Linked DNA regions of Homo sapiens: region 1 is linked to region 2. Evidence: promoter capture Hi-C in 16 types of primary human blood cells and fetal thymus (Javierre and others, 2016). All regions are on one chromosome and are shown on one strand. Each heading gives the region's core, a stretch centred on a gene start or on the middle of the fragment in contact. The rest is flanking DNA. Distances are from core to core; before and after follow the strand shown. Region 1 overlaps SFXN2 (sideroflexin 2). Region 2 holds the start of PCGF6 (polycomb group ring finger 6).

What was found. Contacts are between HindIII fragments. The CHiCAGO score rates a contact against its expected background, and 5 or more counts as called.
Region 1: a contact is called between a fragment that was not itself captured here and the fragment with the promoter of PCGF6 in region 2, in 1 of 17 cell types (M0 macrophages). The highest score is 5.1, in M0 macrophages.

The regions. Positions count from the first base shown.
Region 1 is chr10:102,737,826-102,742,455 of GRCh38, forward strand. SFXN2 (sideroflexin 2) reads left to right here. Exons shown (of 12, transcript NM_178858.6): 12 at 1-4,630. Among named protein-coding and RNA genes, the nearest start is that of WBP1L, 3.8 kb to the right of the region's middle. The HindIII fragment of the contact is 3,345 bases long and covers 305-3,649 here.
Region 2 is chr10:103,348,189-103,352,728 of GRCh38, forward strand. It overlaps PCGF6 (polycomb group ring finger 6), which reads right to left and starts at 2,952. Exons shown (of 10, transcript NM_001011663.2): 1 at 2,519-2,952; 2 at 712-811; 3 at 528-624. The coding sequence starts at 2,878. RefSeq lists an enhancer at 2,180-2,685 and a silencer at 2,851-3,080. The HindIII fragment of the contact is 2,980 bases long and covers 473-3,452 here.

The DNA.
Region 1 (4,630 bases), core at 727-3,226, 610 kb before region 2:
ACACTTGTGTCCTCCTTCCCCTTTGCCAACAAGGCCTGAAGGCCAGGGTAGATTGGGGGGTGGGACAATGAATGCCTCATACTTACACCCTGGTACTGGTTGATTGGACCTCAGGGGAAAAAAGTGAAAAAGGGTAGCAAAGGCCAATGTCTTCTAGCTGCTTCCTCAACCCCTGTCCCCTGGAGACCAGAAGCTGAGGCCCTCTCAGGGAGGAGACATCCAAGCAAATCATTTGGAAAAGTTAGGAAACCTTTAGGATTCTGGTTCCAGCCAGGGTTGAGGAAAAGACCTTGGATCAAAAGGAAGCTTCTATACCTCTTTCTTCTTCGCTTCCTCCTCTCCCAAGCAATGGAAACTTTTACCCATGTAATTCTAGCTGAACTCAGGAAAAAGAAGGGGGAAAGGACTCTGTCCCCTTGGGGCTCATCACCCTTCCACATCCTCCTCCTCGTTGCCCCCTGGTCAGGCAGCTTCTTTTTTTTTTTTTTCAAGATGGAGTCTTGCTCTGTCGCCCAGGCTGGAATGCAGTGGCGCGATCTCGGCTCACTGCAAACTCTGCCTCCTGGATTCAAGCGATTCTCCTGCCTCAGCCTCTCAAGTAGCTGGGATTACAGGGCACCTGCCACCACGCCTGGCTAATTTTTGTATTTTAGTGGAGACGGGGTTTCACCATGCTGGCCAGACTGGTCTCGAACTCCTGACCTCAGGTGATCCGCCCGCCTCAGCCTCTGAAATTGCTGGGATTACAGGCATGAGCCACCACACCCAGCCCGGACAGCTTCTTTGGGAGTGCTGCTAACCTTGAAATTATCAGACACTTAGGAGTTATTAGTGCTAAAAAGGGGACCGTGCAAGGCAGCAGAGTTACATGGTTCTTCAAATCATGTCTGAACCTATTCTTGGAATCTTCTCTATAATAAGGGAAGTTCTCTTACCCCACTGCCACATACCTCTGTTTTAAAAGATAAGTCCACTAACTGTGAGTAAAAATGATATATATAGGCATTAACCACACACTTTAATGGGTATAATTTCCTGGCTGCCTCCCTTCCTCAGCCCATTAGGTTAAACACCAAAGAAAGACTGGTGTGTACTGAATAGGAAAGGGAAGTTTTATTTGGAACCTTCTAAGAGGAAATCAACCAGGACCAAAGAGCCTTAAAGGACACACAGCAATGCACAGCCACTTCCCTTCCCCAGCTTGGCTGCCCTAGGTGATTTCTCAAGCTCCTTGGGGGACTGTTGTTTCTCATCTGGAATCAATGTGTGTATGAGTTTTGTCTGGTAGGATTGCTGACTCTGTCCAACAGATATCACTGTGAATTGAATAAATTTGTTGAAAGAGCACACAGGCACACATACACACAAACTGTAAACTAAGTTAATGAAGCCTGAATGGAAAGCAGGATCTGGCCTTACTTTGGCCTTGGCATGTCAGAAGGTATCACAACTACTATATAAGGGGAACTTGTCTGATGCCTGGAGGCTGTTGTTTATTTCCCTCATTAAAGGGGAAATCCACCTGTCTCCACAGGAAGCTCCAGATCTCCCAGAATGGGAGCTGTGTTGCCCTAGAGCAAGAGTTGGCAAGCTATGGCTCAAGGGGCCAAATCCACCTGCCACCTGTTTTTGTGCAATTGGAAGCTAAGAATGTTTTTACATTTTTAAAGAGTTGTAAAAGGGAACAACAGGAATGACAGAGACCCTACCTATGTGGCATACAAAGCCTAAAATATTTACTGTCTGATCCTTGACACAAAAAGTTTCCCCTGCCCTGGAGCAGTGGTTCTTAAGCACATGCATCAACCGGGCGCAGTGGCTCATGCCTGTAATCCCCACACTTTGGGAGGCCGAGGCAGGTGGATCACCTGAGGTCAGGAGTTCGAGACCAGCCTGATCAACATGGTGAAACCCGATCTCTACTAAAAATACAAAAAATTTGCTGGGTGTGGTGGCATACACCTGTAATCCCAGCTACTCGGGGGGCTGAGACTGGAGAATCACTTGAACCTGGGAGGTGGAGGTTGTGGTGAGCCAAGATTGCGCCACTGCACTCCAACCTGGGCGACTCCGTCTCAAAAAAAAAAAAGAAAACACATCAGAATTAGCTGGCAGGCTTGTTAAAGCACAGATTGCAGGATCCATTGCCAGATTCTGTCACTCTGGGCTGGAGCCTGAGAACGTGCATTTCTAGTCATTGCCCGGTGATGCTGATTCTGTTGGTCTTGGCACCATACGTGGAGGAGCACTGCTCTAAGGGGAAAGGGCCTCCTCCCCGAGGCCAAGGAATTCACTGCAACTTGATTTTTCTCCCCGTTTAAAAAAGTTAAAATATAACTCACATACCATAAACTTAGTCCTTTTAAAGTGTACAATTCAGTGGTTTTTAATGTAGTCACAAAGTTGTACAAGCATCACCACTAATTCCAGAATTATTTTGAGACAGGATCTCACTCTGTTACCCTGGTTGGAGTGCAGTAGTGCAATCACTGCTCATTGCAGCCTCAACCTCCTGAGCTCAAGTAATCCTCCTGCCTCAGCCTCTGGGGTAGCTGGGACCACAGGCTAATTTGATTTTTTTGATGAGGTCTCACTATGTTGCCCCAGGCTGGTCTCGAACTCATGGCCTCAAGTGATCCTCCTCCCTCAGCCTTCCAAAGTGTTGGAATTACACACATGAGCCACTGCATCTGGTCTCAGAACATTTTTCTTAGCCCCAAAAGAAACCCCATACCCATTGGCAGTCACTCCACATTCTCCCTACCTGCCAGCGCCTCACAATTCACTTCCTGTCTTTAGAGATTTGCGTATTCTGAACATTTCATGTAAGTGGAGTAATGCAGTATGTGGCCCTCTGTGTCTGGTTTCTTTCCTTAGGATAATGTTTTCAAGGTTCATCCATGTTGTAGCATATGCAATTTGATTTTAGCTGGTGTCTGAACAGAAAAGTCTGTCTTTGAGCTAGCTTCTTTAGGACAGGAGACCTGGCTTTATTTCCAAAAGCAAATAGGAAAAGGGAAACATTACCAGAGCCAGTAGAGCTTGGAAACAACTCCTGACTGATGTTCTTTCAGAACATACAATGTTTCCCCTTCCTTCTCAGCTCCTCAAGCCTCTTGGATTTCCTGTTCTCTTATAGACAACTGCTCTTTTGGAAATGTCTGGAAGGTATGTGGTGGCTATAATGTTCAGGGACATTCTAAAAAGTGGTCACTCAAACTGCATCTCAGTCTCATTTTGTAACATCTCTCTTCTTTGAGTTGGCTGCTGTGGGATGTTGAATAAGAGGCAGTTAAGGTTACTAAAAGGCCTTGGTGTGGGAAGTGCTAATCCAGACTGTCCTATCCAATAGCTCAGCTTGAGCTTTCAGGTAAAAGGAGAAAGGGAAGTTGGGGCAAAATCCCCTGTGTTTGCCAAACTGAATTGGGGTTTCTTATTTATTGAGAGAAAGAGGGTATCACTTTCTTGCCCAGGCTGGAGTGCAATGGTATGATCATGACTCATTGCTTCCTCAGCCTCCTGGACTCAAGTGATCCTCCTGCCTTAGCCTCCCGAGTAGCTTCTTTTTCCTGAGTTCGGCTAGAATAGCATGGGTAAAAGGTTCCATTGCTCGGGAGAGGAGGAGGAAGGGAAGAAGAAGAGGTATAGAAGCTTCCTTTTGATCCAAGGTCTTTTCCTCAATCCTGGCTAGAACCAGAATCCTAAAGGTTTCCTGACTACAGGTACATGCCACCATGCCCAGCTAATTTTTAAATTTTTTGTAGACAGAGGGCCTCACTATGTTTCCCAGGTTGGTCTTGAACCCCTGACCTCAAGCAATCCTCATGCCTTGGCCTCCCAAAGTGTTGGGATTACAGGCGTGAGCCACTACATCCCACCTGGGGTTTCTTAGTGATGATGAAACCTAGCCTTTATGTGGAAGACTTACAACTTTTTGAGGCCAGGAATTAGAGACCTTGTGCCATGAAAATAATTTGGTCCTTCCCTAGTACTCAATTTTTACTTCTCCTCTAAGGAGCTTGACTTGTGGAATGGATAAATTTCTAAGAAACGAGAGATTGGCAAAAATACGTGTCACTTTTTATAGTACTTGGAAAAGCAGGATCAAGATAAAGGCAGAACTATGGACTTTCTTAAGCTGAGGGAAGACTGACTTAACTCTTACCTGTTTCCCATTTTTCCAACACTTAAGCCAAGAACAACTTCCTCTGGGCTCAGATGTGGGCTAGACTGGGCCAGGCTGTAAAACACTTTGACAGGTTTTTGAGAGGAAATTGACTGCTAAAGTCAACTGTGTTATTTGCCATGGGTCTTCCTTTGTCCATTTATTTTACCAACTTTTTTTTTTCTTTTTTTTTTGAGACAGAGTCTCACTCTGTCACCTAGGGTGGAGTGCAGTGGCACAGTCTTGGCTCACTGCAACCTCTGCCTCCCAGGTTCAAGCGATTCTTCTGCTTTAGCCTCCTGAGTAGCTGGGACTACAGGCATGCACCACCACGCCTGGCTAATTTTTTGTATTTTTAGTAGAGATTGGGTTTCACAATGTTGGCCAGGCTCGAACTCCTGACCATGTGATCCGCCCACCTCGGCCTCCCAAAGTGCTGGGATTACAGGCAGGAGCCACCGCACC
Region 2 (4,540 bases), core at 1,702-4,201:
ATGGGATTAAAATTCTCAGGAAAAAGGCCTGTGCCTCTTTTAAGTCCTCAGCAGATATTACAGTGCCTAGTACATAGTAAGTGCTCTATACATATTTCTTAAAAGAATATGTAGTTCCCTTTTAATTTTGAGAGAGGTCAAGAGTTTTTTTGTTTTTTTTTTTTTTGAGATACTCTCATCAGTCTGTCGCCCAGGCTGGAATACAGTGGCACGATCTTGGCTCCTGCAACCTCTGCCTCCCAGGTTCAAGCGATTCTCCTGCCTCAACCTCCCAAGTAGCTGGGATTACAGGCATGTGCCGCCACTCCTGGCTAATAGTGGAGATGGGGTTTCACCATGTTGGCCAGGTTGGTCTTGAACTCCTGATCTGAAGTGATCCACTCACCTCGGCCTCCCAAAGTGCTGGGATTATGGCATTAGCCACTGAACCCATCCTGAGAGGTCAATAATTTATTCCAACTATATAACTTCAAGCTTTCAGAAAAAGTATATTTAAAATACAATTGTAATTTATATATTCTTCTTACCTTATGTTATAAAGAGGTTGTGTCTGATGTACTACTATATTGCATTTTGGACATCTGTTGCTGTAGTAAAAATGTCTTACGATGCAGCTTTTACAAACTGTTGAAAAAGAATGTTGAAGTCAGGATGCTTTCAAGACATTTCAAAAACTGAAAAATTATTCAGAAATGTGATCGGTATGCTTACAGGTATGAAGACATTCTGTGATGGTAGTTGCATCTATTAAGTAACCTTTGCAAATGGAACACAAGATGTATGGGGTCAGCTCAGAGAGATTAATCAGGCGCTGCAAATAAACGGAAACAGTTTTAAAATACAAGTCCTTGCCTTTTACAAATTCTTTTTTTTTTTTTGAGACAGAGTCTCACTCTGTAGCCCAAGCTGAGTGCAGTGATGTCATCTCGGTTCACTGCAACCTCCGCCTCCTGGATTAAAGCGATTCTCCTGTCTCAGCCTCCCGAGTAGCTGGGATTACAGGCGCGCACAACCACGCCTGGCTAATTTTTGTATTTTTAGTAGAGATGGGGTTTCACCATGTTGGCCAGGCTGGTCTCGAACCCCTGGCCTCAGGTGATCCACCCGCCAAGGCCTCCCAAAGTGCTAGGATTACAAGCATGAGCCACCGCGCTCAGTCCACCTTCTTCAAAACCTTAAACCATAATCTCAAAATGTCATTGCAACATGGAAACATACACCTCCAACCCATTAAAAGACTACTGAAAGTTACAATAATAACACAATATAAATTATTGTTTCTTTCTTTCCGTTTTTTTTTTTTTTTTTTTGAGAGGGAGTCTGCCTCTGTCGCCCAGACTGGAGTGCAGCGGCAAGATCTCGGCTCACTGCAACCTCCGCCTCCCAGATTCAAGTGATTCTCCTACCTCAGCCTCCTGAGTAGCTGAGATTACAGGCGCGTGCCACCACGCCCCGCTACTTTTTGTATTTTCAGTAGAGAAGGGGTTTCACCGCTTTGGTCAGGCTGAACTCCTGACCTCGTGTTTCGCCTGCCTCGGCCTCCCAAAGTGCGGGGATTATAGGCGTGAGCCACACCGCGCCCAGCCAAATTATTGTTTCAAAAGGATCTTTACGCTGGGCGCAGTGGCTCACGCCTGTAATCCCAGCACTTTGGGAGGCCGAGGCGGGCGGATCACGAGGTCAGGAGATCGAGACCATCCTGGCTAACACGGTGAAACCCCGTCTCTACTAAAAATACAAAAAATAAGCCGGGCGTGGTGGCGGGCGCCTTGTAGTCCCAGCTACTCTAAAGGCTGAGGCTGGAGAATCGCTTGAACCTGGGAGGCGGAGGTTGCAGTGAGCCGAGATCGCGCCACTGCACTCCAGCCTGGGCGACAGAGCGAGACTCCGTCTCAAAAACAAAACAAAACAAAACAAAACAAAAGGATCTTTACTGCCTAGTAAGCAGTAGCTTCAATAATTATACAGGACAGGCAACGTGGCTCACGCATGTAATCTTTCGGAAGGCCAGAGAGGGAGAATCTCTTGAACCCAGGAGTTCGAGAACAGCCTGGGAACATAGGGAGCCCTCCTCGCTACAAAAAAAAAAAAAAATGTTTAATTAGCCCGGCGTGGTGGCGCGTGCCTGTAGTCCCAGCTACTCCGGAGGCTGAGGCGGGAGGATCGCCTGAGGCCAGGAGTTGGAGGCTGCAGTGAGCCATGGTCGCGCCACTGCACTCCAGCCTGGGAGACCCTGTCTCAAAATAATTATAATTATTAACAGAACGAATGAGTTGGACTCGCAGAGCCTAAGTGACCTGCAAGAACTTCACAAAATAAGCGGGTAAAGACCCAGGCCGGGCCGGAGGCCTGTCGGCGCCACACGCCTAGGCAGCCGGGGCAGAGGTCGGGGGAGGTCCGCTCCAGTGCTCCGCGCGGCGGCGGCGCACTAGGATCGGGCCGGCGCCCGGCAGACGAGGGCCAGCTACGTCCCTGACGCCGCTTGGGCCCAGCGGGGTCGCGCGGGGGCTCTAAATACCTCCTCCTCGTCCTCCGAGTCCTGCCGGCCTCCCTCCAGCCTCAACGAGAAGTGACTCATGTCCTCCTCCTCCTCCTCTTCTTCCTCCTCCAGCTCCTCTTCTTCTTCCAACTCCTCGTCCTCGTCCTCGAAGCGGCCTCTGAAGCGGCCCAGGCTGCGCTCCGGCTCCAGCTCAGGGGGCCGGGAGCCGGAGCAGCCGGGAGCCCCCGTCTCAGACAGAGGCGCCGGTCCCTCCTCACCCGCTGCGGGTGCAGGGGTGAGGGCGGGCGGGGAGACAGGAGGCGGAGGCGGCAAGGCTGCAGCTCCCTCGGTTTTGGCAGCGCCTACGCTGCCCGCCGTCACCACCGCGACCCCCTCCATGGTCGGGAGAGACACCAGGCGAGGCGAGGCGGCGGGAGAGCGCGGGAGTTCGGCCGGCCTCGGACGCCACCACTGCGCAGGCGCGGCAGCCTGAGGGGCTCGCCGGGAAATGTGGTTTAGCGGCCCTCACCTCCGCGGGGCGCAAACCCTGCAGCTCCGGGGCAGGCTGCGGGGCGCGCGGGCCGCACTTTAAAGGAATCTCACCAGATTTTCTCCTTGGAAGGGGACGCTCTCTTCGCCGCCTTTTAAAAACAGCAAAATTGCTACCGTTCCAAGCAACAATATTCTGTTTGCATCACCTAATTCACAGAGCACTGAACTAGGTAGCATGTGACGTTGCATCACAAATAATAATCATTTCCACTTGAGTACCAATTATGCATTTCCTCTGTGGCAAATCACCTCCATCCAAGATTATTTCCCTTAGGAAGTATAAAGTTCCTGTTCTGAAGTATGTACGTTTATTTATTTTAAGGAATTATATAGTGTATTGATACAAGGTGAAAATCTAATCACTACTCAAAGATCATCCATGTCACCCCATCCCATAAAGCCCATTATATTGAATTCGAAAAGCTTTTTTTTTTTTTTTTTGAGACAGTTTCGCTCTTGTCGCTCAGGCAGGAGTGCAGTGGCGCTCACTTGCAACCTCCGCCTCCCGGGTCCAAGCGATTCTGCCTCAGGCTCCCAAGCAGCTGGGACTACTGGCGCCTGCCACCACGCCCAGCTAACTTTTGTATTTTCAGTAGAGACAGGGTTTCACCATGTTGACCAGGCTAGTCTCAAACTTCTGATCTCAGGTGATCCACCCGCCTCAGCCTCCCAAAGTGTTGGGTTACAGGCCTGAGCCAGGGCGCCGGGCCCAACAAACATTTATTGAGGGCCTACTGTAGCAGAAACTCAGACCCACCCAGGTACAACCCACCCCATTGCCCAATTTTATTAAGAGAGGTTTGGAGTTGGCTTAACATTATTCTTGCTAGTCCGGGCGCGGTGGCTCACACCTGTAATCCCAGCACTTTGGGAGGCCGAGGCGCGCAGATCATGAGGTCAGGAGTTCAAGACCAGCCTAGCCAACATGGTGAAACCCCGTCTCTACTAAAAATACAAAAATTAGCTGGGCATGGTGGCGCGTGCCTGTAATCCCAGCTACTTGGGAGGCTAAGGCAGAAGAATCACTTGAGCCCAGGAGGCGGAGCTTGCAGTGAGCTAAGATCGTGCCACTGCACTCCAGCCTGGGCTACAGAGTGAGACTCCATCTCAAAACAAAACAAAACAAAACAAAACAAAACAAAAAACAAAAAAACCATTATCCTTGCTAAGATAATGCCAGCTAATGTCACGATGCCTGCAAGAAAGATTCGGGAAGTCAAATGCTCCTAATCAAATAATGCCTGGCAAAGTCACATTTAAGAGCTGAATGTGACCAGGCACAGTGGCTCCCGCCTGTAATCCCAGCACTTTGGGAGGCTGAGGCAAGCGGATTGCCTGAGGTTGGGAGTTAGAGACCAGCCTGACCAACATGGAGAAACCCCATCTCTACTAAAAATACAAAATTAGCCGGGCATGGTGGCGCATGCCTGTAATCCCAGCTACTCGAGAGGCTGAGGCAGGAGAATCACTTGAACACAGACGAGGTGGAGGTTGCGGTGAGCCGAGATC